Linked DNA regions of Homo sapiens: region 2 is linked to region 1. The links are contacts of gene promoters, found by promoter capture Hi-C in human tissues and cell types (Jung and others, 2019). All regions are on one chromosome and are shown on one strand. The core of a region is centred on a gene start or on the middle of the fragment in contact, and the rest is flanking DNA. Distances in the headings are between cores, read along the strand shown.

Region 1 (5,446 bases), core at 1,320-3,819:
TGTAATCCCAGCACTTTGGGAGGCCGAGGCGGGTGGATCACGAGGTCAAGAAATCGAGACCATCCTGGCCAAATGGTGAAACCCCATCTATACTAAAAATACAAAAATTAGCTGGGCGTGGTGATGCCCGCCTGTAGTCCCAAGTACTCAGAAGGCTGAGGCAGGAGAATCGCTTGAACCTGGGAGGTGGAGGGTGCAGTGAGCCAAGATCGCAGCACTGCACTCCAGCCCTGGTGACAGAGACTCCGTCTCAAAATTAAAAAAAAAAAAAAAAAAAAAGACCTTAAGAAAACTTGCAATAATGTTTCTATCAAATACCTTACTATGCTATTTATTTAAGAAAAATGACCAAATCCAGTCCAATTTACAGATTTTAAAGCTGAAAGGGCATTGGAGATTGCCTAGTATGCTTTCCACATATCTAAGTGGAAACACACTCAGAGTGATTTATCAGAGTATACATAACATTACTGTACCACAACTGTGAATCTCAGTTCACGAGCTCAGACTTCTCTTTATGGAAAGTAGTTCACAGTATTTGAATCAATCCTGACACCACCTTTAGTTAAGGCAATGCAGACTGCAGTAAGGAGCTCCACTGTGGCAACCCCTATGCTGTTCCTGGTCTTGCAGACTGTCCTGTAACTTGAAGCTAGATGAGCAAACTTAGATTGTAAAGGCATGGTCTAGATCAGCAGTCTCCAACCTTAATGGCATCCAGGACTGGTTTCGTGGAAAACAATTTTTCCATGGACGGGGATGGGGGATGCTTTCAGGATGAAGCTGTTCCACCTCAGATCATCAGGCATTAGATTATCATAAGGAGCGCACAACCTAGATCCCTCGCACATGCAGTTCACATTACGGTTCGCACCATGAGAATCTAATGATGCTGCTGATCTGACAGGAGGCGGAACTTAGACGGAAATGCTCACTCACCCATCGCTCACCTCCTGCTGTGCGGCCCCGTTCCTAACAGGCTGCAAACCAGGTACCAGTCCGTCGTTGGGGACCCCTGGTCTAGATTACAGCTAAAGAACTACAAAGGCTTTCTCTTTATATGCCCTTCCTTCCTGCCCAAGACTTCTGGGCTTTTAACTAGGGATGCAGCACTGCAAGTATCCGGAGGCAGTAACTGGGAAAACCACCTATCATGATTAAAATAAAACACGCATTGGCCTCTGGAACGAAGGATGTTAAAATAATACATTCTGCCCACATCTTGGATTCAAGACTTGGGGAAGTTTTAGAAAAATCAGTTATCTCAAGTAAGTATTCAGTGCACACAATCCAGTGACTGAGTCTACTTTTTCTGGCTACTAAGGTACAGGCTAGGCCTAAGCAGCATAGGCTTTGAAACTATCATCCAGGTTTTCAAATAAAAAGGAGTAAGAAAACAACTGCTGGTAATACAACATTACAAACATTAACATATGCCCAACGAACAGTATCGTAGATCGTTAGATTATCTGCCAAAAGCCTGTTCCCTGGTAAATAACAGTTATTGTTGTTTTACCTAAACTAGTTAAACATGTCGCAGCTTGCTCCTGAAAGAGAACATTCTATAGTCTTTGGAGAATCAGTGAAGAGGTCTTGCAACATTTGTCAGAGGTAGTCAAACAGTGCAAGCAATCACAAAATTTGGTCACCAACCAAACCAGATTAGCTAATCTTTCAGTTCCTGTAGATTAGAAGACAATATTAACTCACCCTTTCTGCATGTTGACTTTTGCATCCCTTTATTTGTGTATTGAAAGAACAAGCACCTCTATGGGAACTCTATGCCCTGACAGTTTAATTACTTATCAAGTTTACTCTGGGCCGGTATTGATCATTCTTTCGTGAAACGAATTAGATACTTAAATTAAAAACAAACAACAAAACCCCCCTTTTCACATAGCATGGCGGCATGTCCCTTGGTAACAAGGTTGAGTGGATCCACCAAGGCCCAGTAGCTTGCCTCCTTTTCGTAAGGATGTAACTATTGTCCAACCAGAAGAGAGAGGCATGGAGTGGGATGTGCACCAGGATGAACTCGCCGGAATCGTCAAGAGTCGTTGTGTGACCCTCACCTTGACTTCGGGCGTTTTGTGGGGACCCAACTGCTTTCTTGCCGCTGCTCTTTGGTCTGAGTTTCCCTCAGCCAAACACTTCACCCACCCATGACCCTCCAACTGTCCCGCTACAGCAGGGGATGGGGGTTGTCTTCCGATCGACCTCGGGGGGCAAAGGCAAAAGTCCCTAGCTGCTTCGGAACCGCTCCTCGAGTCCTGAAGCCGCTCCACGCCTCCTCGCCCACCACTTGGTCCCCGCAGGACGTGGCAGTCTCGGGCTCCAGCCTGGAAAGGAGCCCGCCCGGGTGCCGTCACCCGCCCCGCGCGGCCTCACCTGCCGCTCCCCGGAAATCTCAGCGCTGCCCTGCCCCCGCCCCCACCCTCCCGCGTCCTCCAACTCGAGGTCCCAAGACCCACACAGCAATGGCGCAGCCGGAAACTGGGCCCTAGACTTACTCACGCCCGGCTGGCGGCTCGGGTCGCCTGTGGGCGGGACGCAAAGGCCGCGACTTCCGCCTTCCTGCTTCCGGTCTGGCGGTGAGTGGGGAGTGGGATCCGATCCCGTGGGGCTATGTAGGGGAAGTTGGTGGCTGCAGCTGCCGTGGTTTTCTCCTGGTGTCCAGCAGAAACGGCGGCGGCGCAAGGTGTGGCTGGGCCAACCCAGGATCTCCCAGGACCCTCCGCTCTGCGCGACAAGGGGCCCGCGCTTGCCAAGGCCGACGGGCAGGAGTGAACGTGGCCTCCGTGGGTCTGCAGCCCCGATAGGGTAAGGAGGGAAGAGTGAGCAAGGGAGAAACGTAAGGAATAAGGGAAAGACAAAGGAGGAAGTGCGGACGGCCGTCAAGTGCTACCCGTTGCAGCCGCAGGGGCCACGCGGGTCTGGTTGGGAGATCGAGCCTGGTCGATCCGTTTTGGGCGGAAGAGTAGGATTTATTCCTGAAAGTGTGGAGGCGCGAGCGTTTGGGTCCGAAGTTGAGTTGCAGGGAGATGTGTGGCCTGTGGACCATGGCTCTTTTACTGCAAAGTTCTTTTGCTTATTTCTGAAACTTACATTGTTTATTCGCTACTGGGCTGGAGAAGGTGAAGGCAGATCGATCTCAGTAGTACCTAATTCTAACTGTATGGGTGAGGTCGTATGAAGTCCAGGAGCTAAGATATTTAACGTATTAGGCACTTTCATGTGTGTTCAGTTGAAAATCGTGGGGAAGATATAATTAAAACTAGTCACAGTTTTCTTGGGGTAATGGGACTGTGGGTGAATTACTATAATTTGTTTGGTTATGTCTTCTAATTTTTTAAGTAAAGGACACAAATTGTATGATGGACCCAAAAAAACCTTTATAAAGAGTAAGATGAGCTGTTTGATTTTGTAGTGGTGTACCTAATCCAGTAAATAAATGAGTGGCAACATTTTTAGTATAAAAATTGAAAATCTAGGAACGGATACGCTGTGTAAGTCAGTCAGTGAGCCAACTTGTCTCCCGTATGTCAATGAACTAAAAAAATTTTATTATTGAAATAAGTAACTTAGTAAAATACTTGATTTCCAGTAATTAGGATTTTCTTACAGGGCATTTGCAATTGTAAATTCAAATGAGGAAGAAACGTATTAAGTTACTATACCGGATAGGCAATTTTAGATGTCATATAGGTTGCATATATACAATATAGAAATTTTCCATTTAAAATTTTATTACAATTATCCTGAAATTGTGACTTAAATTTTGTTTTATTTTTTGTATTCTTTCCAACTAGCCAATTGTACAGAATTTAAACCGTCTCTCAGATGTGTACAGTAGAACTCAAGAAGACAGACTACCAAGGGTCATCTGAAGTCGTGATTGGGTCACTAATAACACCAGGACAAAGTTAAGGGATCACTACTCAAGCATAAGGTAGATGATTTTTTTAAAAAAATTCCAGTTGAAATTGTAAGTGGATGTATATACACTCATTCCCTACCCAGGTATTCTAATTCTCCACTTTGAATAGCGGTTGACACAAACATGAAAGGGAGAAAAGCCTCTGGGGCAAAATAGAAAACGTCACTCAAGTCACATAATCCTCATTTGCCAGTTGCCTTTTCCTTACACTCAAAAAGGAACAAAACACATGGCATCTGTTAAGGCTACTTTCTCATTTATTAAATTAGGCTTATTCCAACAGAGGTCCTCAAAGCTGAAAGGGCATAAAATAGCACAGTACTTTTTGCTTCTTTGGCATATTAATGCGATGTCATGACTCCCTTACCCTCTCCTTCCCATTCGGGGAAATAGTCATCTCTCCTTCTCTGCGAGCATTTCACATGCTCTGTTGCTTGTCCTTTTCAAACACCAAATTTGCTGATTTGTATTTTTGTTAATTAGTAATACTAAGGATATGTCAAAAAATGACAAACTGTATTCAGCTGTTTCCTGGAATGACCACAGAAAACTCAAGATTTTTATAAAAGCCTCCTCCTAAATAAAGTTTGTCTTGAATATAGGAGGCATGTGAGAATGCATAGTCCTTATGACAGAGTCACATGGCTTTTTTAAATCTTCTATAACTTTACCTCTTTGAAGTGTCACTATTCTGGCTGTACTAGATGAATTACTTTTTCCTAACCAGAGATACTAGTCCTTATTACAATAGTACTAAGTTGTACTTTTTAAAAAAGCAAACTGAGTGATAATGGAATCCTGAGTTAACTGGTTGTGTGAGGAAACTTTTTCAAAATTTGATTAACCACATAGTCTTTTCTCCTGTTTTTTTCCTCTGTGTTCTCCACCCGCCTCCCCCAGCCCCAGTTTTCATAAGACTGCTGTGAAGATGTTTGATATAAAGGCTTGGGCTGAGTATGTTGTGGAATGGGCTGCAAAGGACCCCTATGGCTTCCTTACAACCGTTATTTTGGCCCTTACTCCACTGTTCCTAGCAAGTGCTGTACTGTCTTGGAAATTGGCCAAGATGATTGAGGCCAGGGAGAAGGAGCAAAAGAAGAAGCAAAAACGCCAAGAAAACATTGCAAAAGCTAAACGACTAAAAAAGGATTGAAGGACTGAACAGGCTTTGCAACCAGAGGAAAATCATTTGGAAAATTACACAGCTTTGGAAGAATCCACTAAAGTTTCTTCTTTGGATTTCTTGACAGTATGATTTAGTAAATGAAATTTGACCAAATGGAAGAATCATGTTAGTTCTGACCTCAATACTATAGTAACTTTTAGGCGTGGGTGTAGAAGTTTATAGGTTTCTATTGACAGTTATTGTAAATTAGCATTTACTGTGGTACAAATTCTTTATAACTGACTTAGTCATTTGCCGCTTAGCAGTTTATATACTGAAATGAAAACATCTTGTGGGGAAAAGTGACTTTAGATTATGAACTCAATTCAAATGAACTCTATTTA
Region 2 (5,446 bases), core at 864-3,363, 450 kb before region 1:
TTTTAGTTTAAAACCCATTTGCTGTCTCCCTGCAAATTATTCATTAATTCCAAAGGGGGACCGGGTGCATTGCAGTGAAGCAATCTGGTAAATACCACTTAAACCATAAGATCAAACTTAATATCACCACTAATGGGACAAACTGACATCACGTGCTTCCTAATATGATGTAGTGAAGAGGATAAAATAGCACTTCTGTGATATTCCTGCCAAAACATGCACAACCTGAATCAAATCGTGAGGAAATACCAGGCAAACCCAACCTGAAAAGGCTTCTACAAAACAACATCTCTACCCTTCAGAAATGTCAATGTTGCCAAAAACAAAGCCAGACTGGGGAACTGTTCTAGATTAAAGGAGACTGAAGAGGACTGCAAGATAGATCATAGTATTGCATCCATATACAATGTCAAGAACTCAATGATTGCATTGTGATTTTCTAAGAGAACACCCTTGTTCTTAGGAGATACATGCTGAGTATTTGGGAGTAAAGGTCGTGATGTCTGCAACTTATTCTCAAATGGCTTAGCAAAAATAATAAAAATGTATATATGTATGTGTATAGGGACATTTACAGAGAGAGAAAATAAATGTGGCAAAATAGTAACAGCCAGTGGATCCACCAGAAGGATCAATGGTTGTTTGTTGCACTGTTCTTACAATGTTTCTGTAGAGAGAACCATTTGATTGTCTTTCTAACAATCAAATGCAGGAGTCTCTGGCTTTCTCTGTTCTCACCCATAGACATTCCAACTGCTACTTCTGGTCAAGTAGACAGCCAAGTTTATCTCCATGAGTGAGTAAGAGACAAATGCCGGTGCCCAGGAGGATGGGCCCCTCAACCGTACAGTCACTATGTGTACCCTACCCGCAGGTCTGACAAAGAACCAAGGGCTGCAATGGTTCTGAGGTCCACCAGGCAGCCGTAGGAGCCAGTTGTGAGAAGGGCAAGTTCCACAGGCTTGGGCTCTTAGCTGAAAGAGCTCCTTTCAGAATTTTCTTTTTCTTCTTTTTCTTTTATTGCCTTCCCATAGAAGATTATAGATAGCTGAAGTTTGTGAGTTGGATTACTTCCATCCATAAAATAAAGACTAAAATCTTTCCACCCTAATCAGAAAAAAGCATCCTTTTGTCCCACTATATTCATCAATATGTCATATTTAACAGTTACAATTATTGACAGGCATATAAAACATTTTGTGACAGAGAAAATAGCTTCCTATAAAGTGTTTATTCTTTTTTATTGATAATAAGTTGACTTCTCTAGCCCTACCAAGAGAATACGGACCACTAACAAGAGATCAAATCCATTTATATGACTTCTTACAATCACTCCTTTTACTCTGGGGTTCTGGTCTAGACCCTGTATTTTAAATTTCAGCATCAGTGAGAGCTTGGAGCCCCAAAGCAGGGTCATATTACTTCTGTAATGAGGAAAGTATAATTCTAATAGCATCATTTACTACAGCCTTTCATTTTTCTTCTTCAAGACAGACTGTGCTACTATGTGCCTATGATTTAAATCTTTAAAATAGAAAAACTTCAACTGCAGAGGAATGTTAATCCAAGGATCTGTCTGCATGCAATGCCAGGTGGGTGCTGTATATAATAATAATAATGATGTACTAATAATAACTATAAATATAATTGCTACTTTTATTTAATACCTACTGTATGCCAGGTATTTTACGGAGGCCACAATTTACAGATGTGCTCTGCAAAAAGGTGTCTGGCTGCAAGGCACGTGAGGACTGAAATCCACATGCAAATTCTTTGTCTTTGTGGCGTCTGTAGCATCCCAAAGCAAGGGGTGTCTTTTTGTGATCTGTTATGATATGCGCAAGTGCATGCCTTGCTAATTTACATACCATTTCTGGTCACTAGGACATCAATGCATTATCCCAATAAGGAAAGCCACGTTTCCCTGATTCAAAATGTATATGCTTTCTCTCATGCAACATTGCCTTTCTACAGAACGAGAATCCACAGATAGAATTATTTTTTTAATTCTAAGGGAACATCAATCAGACATAGAATTGATTCTGTTAGAAGTGATGGTTTCATGTCACAAATGTTTACCTGCCCTGCACAAGAAGCAGTTCAGCAGCGTCCGTGGGGGCAGTGGAGTTGAAACCTGAGGTGGTCCTCAGGAGCGTACATGAGAAAGATGAGAATGACATGGGCAAATAATTACAGCCCCAAGGAAGATAGGAGTTCAACAGAGGGAGCAATTTTACCTCTGAGAAGTTCAAATGACATTTGAGTGAAGCCTTGAAGGATGAGAAAATTGTACATACAGAGATGGTGGTAGGGGAAGAATTCCAGCAAAGGCAAGAAACCTCCATCTGTGAGAGGAAATAGAACCCCCACTATTGCTCTTCTGGCCTCAGCCTCCTAGCCTCCTGACCTCCTTCCTCTCGGAAGTGGCTGGGTCCTTTCTCTCTGCTTTTCTCTCCCCAGTAGAGGCCCCGTGGCCTGTTGCTTTGCTCCTTCACGCTGGCCCGGTGCCACAGTAAGCTCTGATGGACCCCCAGTCCCCTTCCCTGCGCCCACACCAGGCAGGTGAGGTATGCGAGAGAAAAGTGCCACCGTGGCGCCCATGGTGCCCTTCCCAACTCCACCGTCCACCTGTTCTGGCCCTTCAGTCATGCCTCCAGTCCCTGGGAGCTCTCTTCCCATTCCTCGTCACCGCCAACTCAAAATGGAGGCGTTCCCCCAGGGCGCTCTCCTCCATCGCTATCCTTCATCCCCAGCAGGGCGGTGGCTCCACCTCCCAGCTCGCCAAGGCCTGAGGCAGGCCCTCATCAGCTCCTCCTCCCCCACCCTCACCACTGCCCCACAAGTGTGTTTCCCACATACCCTCATCTCCCGCCTCCTGTCAGAGGGGAGGCTGGGCACCACCTCCACCCATCGCTCAGGGCCTCCCCTCTCTGGCTCCCTCAGAGGTGTTACTGGGGTCATTATCTCTTCTTGCGTCCATTGTAACCTCTTCTTTCACTTTCCTTTAGTCAACCAATTATTTATTGTTTTCCAAGTGCCAGGCACTGCTGTAGGGGCTCAGGATATAGACAAAAGTGGTTGCTGGTTGAAGTTGATAATCCAGTTCACCTTCACCCTTGCCTCTTCTGCCTCAGCTCTGGATGGGCTCCAGGGTCTCCAACTGTGTTCCCAGCCACCAATGCCTGCGACTTGCTTTGCTCACTCCAGCCTCCCAGGCTGCGCCTCTGCACCGGCCTTGCTTGGACCGTCATTCCCACCCGGTCCCTCCATTGCCTCCCTGCCTCCCACCGCTGCACACTCTCCTGTGTGCTCTGGCCTGGCCTGCAGCTGTCATCATTCACCTGTTGCAAGATGAAAGAAACATTTGCCTAACTTTCTGTCTCCACAACTAGACTGGATGATCCTCACAGCCCCAAACTGTGGCTCCTTGGTTCTTTGTGTCCTTGGCACCTAACAAAGGACCTGGAACAGCCTCTGCATGCATGACAACTGAAGCATTCCATGCTTACATACAATCATTATCTTAGTAGCTTTCATATATAACTATGTGCCAGTCACTGTTCTAAGCACAGTTCTGTACACATTATCTTATCCTCTCAACAATTGTTGAAGATAAGTGCTCTGTAATCCCAGCCCTTTGGGAGGCCGAGGCGGGAGGATCAAGAGGTCAGGAGCTCGAGACCATCCTGGCTAACACGGTGAAACCCCGTCTCTACTAAAATTACAAAAAAGTAGGCGGGCGCCTGTAGTCCCAGCTACTCGGGAGGCTGAGGCAGGAGAATGGCGTGAACCCAGGAGGCAGAGCTTGCAGTGAGCAGAAATCATGCCACTGCACTCCGGCCTGGGCTAAAGAACGAGACTCTGTCTCAAAAAAAAAAAAAAAAAAAAAAAAAAAAGGATAAGTGCTAAGGTGACCTCTACTCTTACAAAGGAAGATACTGAGGGTTACAGAAACTAAGCAACTCACCCCCCGTTCACACTGCTGGAAAAGCGGGGAGCCGGAATTCCAGCCTTATTCACTGCGAGCACCAACTCTTAACCATCATTCACTAGACCTCCCCACAGAGTAACATAACATGACATAACATAACATAAGGAATGTTGTGTAGACAAGTGATTAGTGGAGGAAAGGAGCTAACATTTGAATGCCTACTTTGTGCCAGTACCTCGATCCATCCTCTTAATTCTTACACTGCCTCTGTACCGTGTACCTACTTGATATTACCATGTAGTAACTTGTCAAATTTGACTGATAGGCTCAGAGAAGTTCAGAAACTCAATCAAGGTCGCACAGTAAGTATGTAAATGGTGGTCCTTGTTGAATCCACGGCTCTCTAATAACAAAACACTCTGTCCAGCACAGGATTCAGTGCTCCCTGGTGGGCCCTGGGGTCTCAGCACCTTCTGGGGGTATGTGGGCTGAGTCCAGCACTTTGGGAGGGTAGGGAAATTCTCTCAATTTCTGCAATGTAATCAACTCCTTTCAAAGTTCTTTTCACAGGAGCTTGAAAGGAGAACAAAGCTGGCCCAATTCTTCCTCTTTTCAAATTTAAAGAGTTTTGTTTTGTTTTGCTTTGCTTTTTGTGCCTCTAATTCCTATTGCTTTAAATACTAAAGTGTGCACTAGACCTCACTGAGTTTTTAACACAGATTTCTGGTGGTCTAAACTCCACCCATGGTCTCTCTGCCTCTGGGAGGCATTATTCTGCCTGCATAATCCTCATCATCATCCTCAAGACGCTGAGCTGATGAATGGCCACAATTCCATTCCCCACCTCCACGCCATTTTAGAAAGAAGGAAGCAGAAAGACGAAGCAGCCTCCAGAGAGGCTCAGACTTGAAAGAAATAAAATGTCTACAAGACGAAGACAGTTTAAAATGAGCAGGACAGAGAGAGCATTGACAAAACACGTTATATCTGTGCTGCTTGGAGGAATGGGATGGAGTGGGAGAGATGGTCTTGGGCTCACAAGGACATCAGTCTGGTCCCAGAGAATAAAGAAGCTGTTCTCTTTGGGGAAGCAAGGACTGAGCATCCCCTAAGCCTTCGCTTTGGTTCAAGGACACCAGCAGCAGGATGCACTAGCCCATGGTGTGAGAATTTGCTTACCCACATTCCTAAACACTCTCACTCAGACTCCTGTGTCCTCTCCACCCAACTCTGAGGGTCACTCAACCCTCTAGATCGTGAGGCCCTGCTCTGCCTAGGGTTAGTCAGACTCCTCTGCTCCAGGAAGTGAATAGTTTTCCTCATTCCCACGAAGTAAAAATGTCATGAGAAATGCAGGGGCTGTGCTTGTTGAGGCAAGCCCAGTGGTGATATTCACAAGTCATGTCCAGCACAAGTGGGAGCTCCCAGGGGCCAGGGGAACGAGGCTGAGATGGACCCAAACCCACCAACTGGGAAGGCTCCACTGTGCTCGCAGTTTTAGTCAGGCTCAGGGAC

The links. Contacts are between HindIII fragments. The study calls those that stand out against the background at their distance.
Region 2: a fragment that was not itself captured here is called in contact with the fragment with the promoter of SMIM15 in region 1 in 1 of the 25 tissues and cell types used here (dorsolateral prefrontal cortex).

What each region holds. Positions count from the first base shown.
Region 1 is chr5:61,159,591-61,165,036 of GRCh38, reverse strand. It overlaps SMIM15 (small integral membrane protein 15), which reads left to right and starts at 2,569. Exons shown (of 3, transcript NM_001048249.4): 1 at 2,569-2,820; 2 at 3,810-3,949; 3 at 4,838-5,446. The coding sequence starts at 4,866. The coding sequence ends at 5,090. SMIM15-AS1 (SMIM15 antisense RNA 1) reads right to left here and starts at 2,721. Exons shown (of 4, transcript NR_109908.1): 1 at 2,511-2,721. RefSeq lists enhancers at 1,881-1,940, 1,981-2,080, 2,611-2,870, 2,941-3,020, 2,506-3,402 and a silencer at 2,321-2,430. The HindIII fragment of the contact is 13,088 bases long and covers 1-5,446 here.
Region 2 is chr5:61,604,612-61,610,057 of GRCh38, reverse strand. No RefSeq gene overlaps it. Among named protein-coding and RNA genes, the nearest start is that of LINC03122, 30 kb to the left of the region's middle. The HindIII fragment of the contact is 5,717 bases long and covers 1-4,971 here.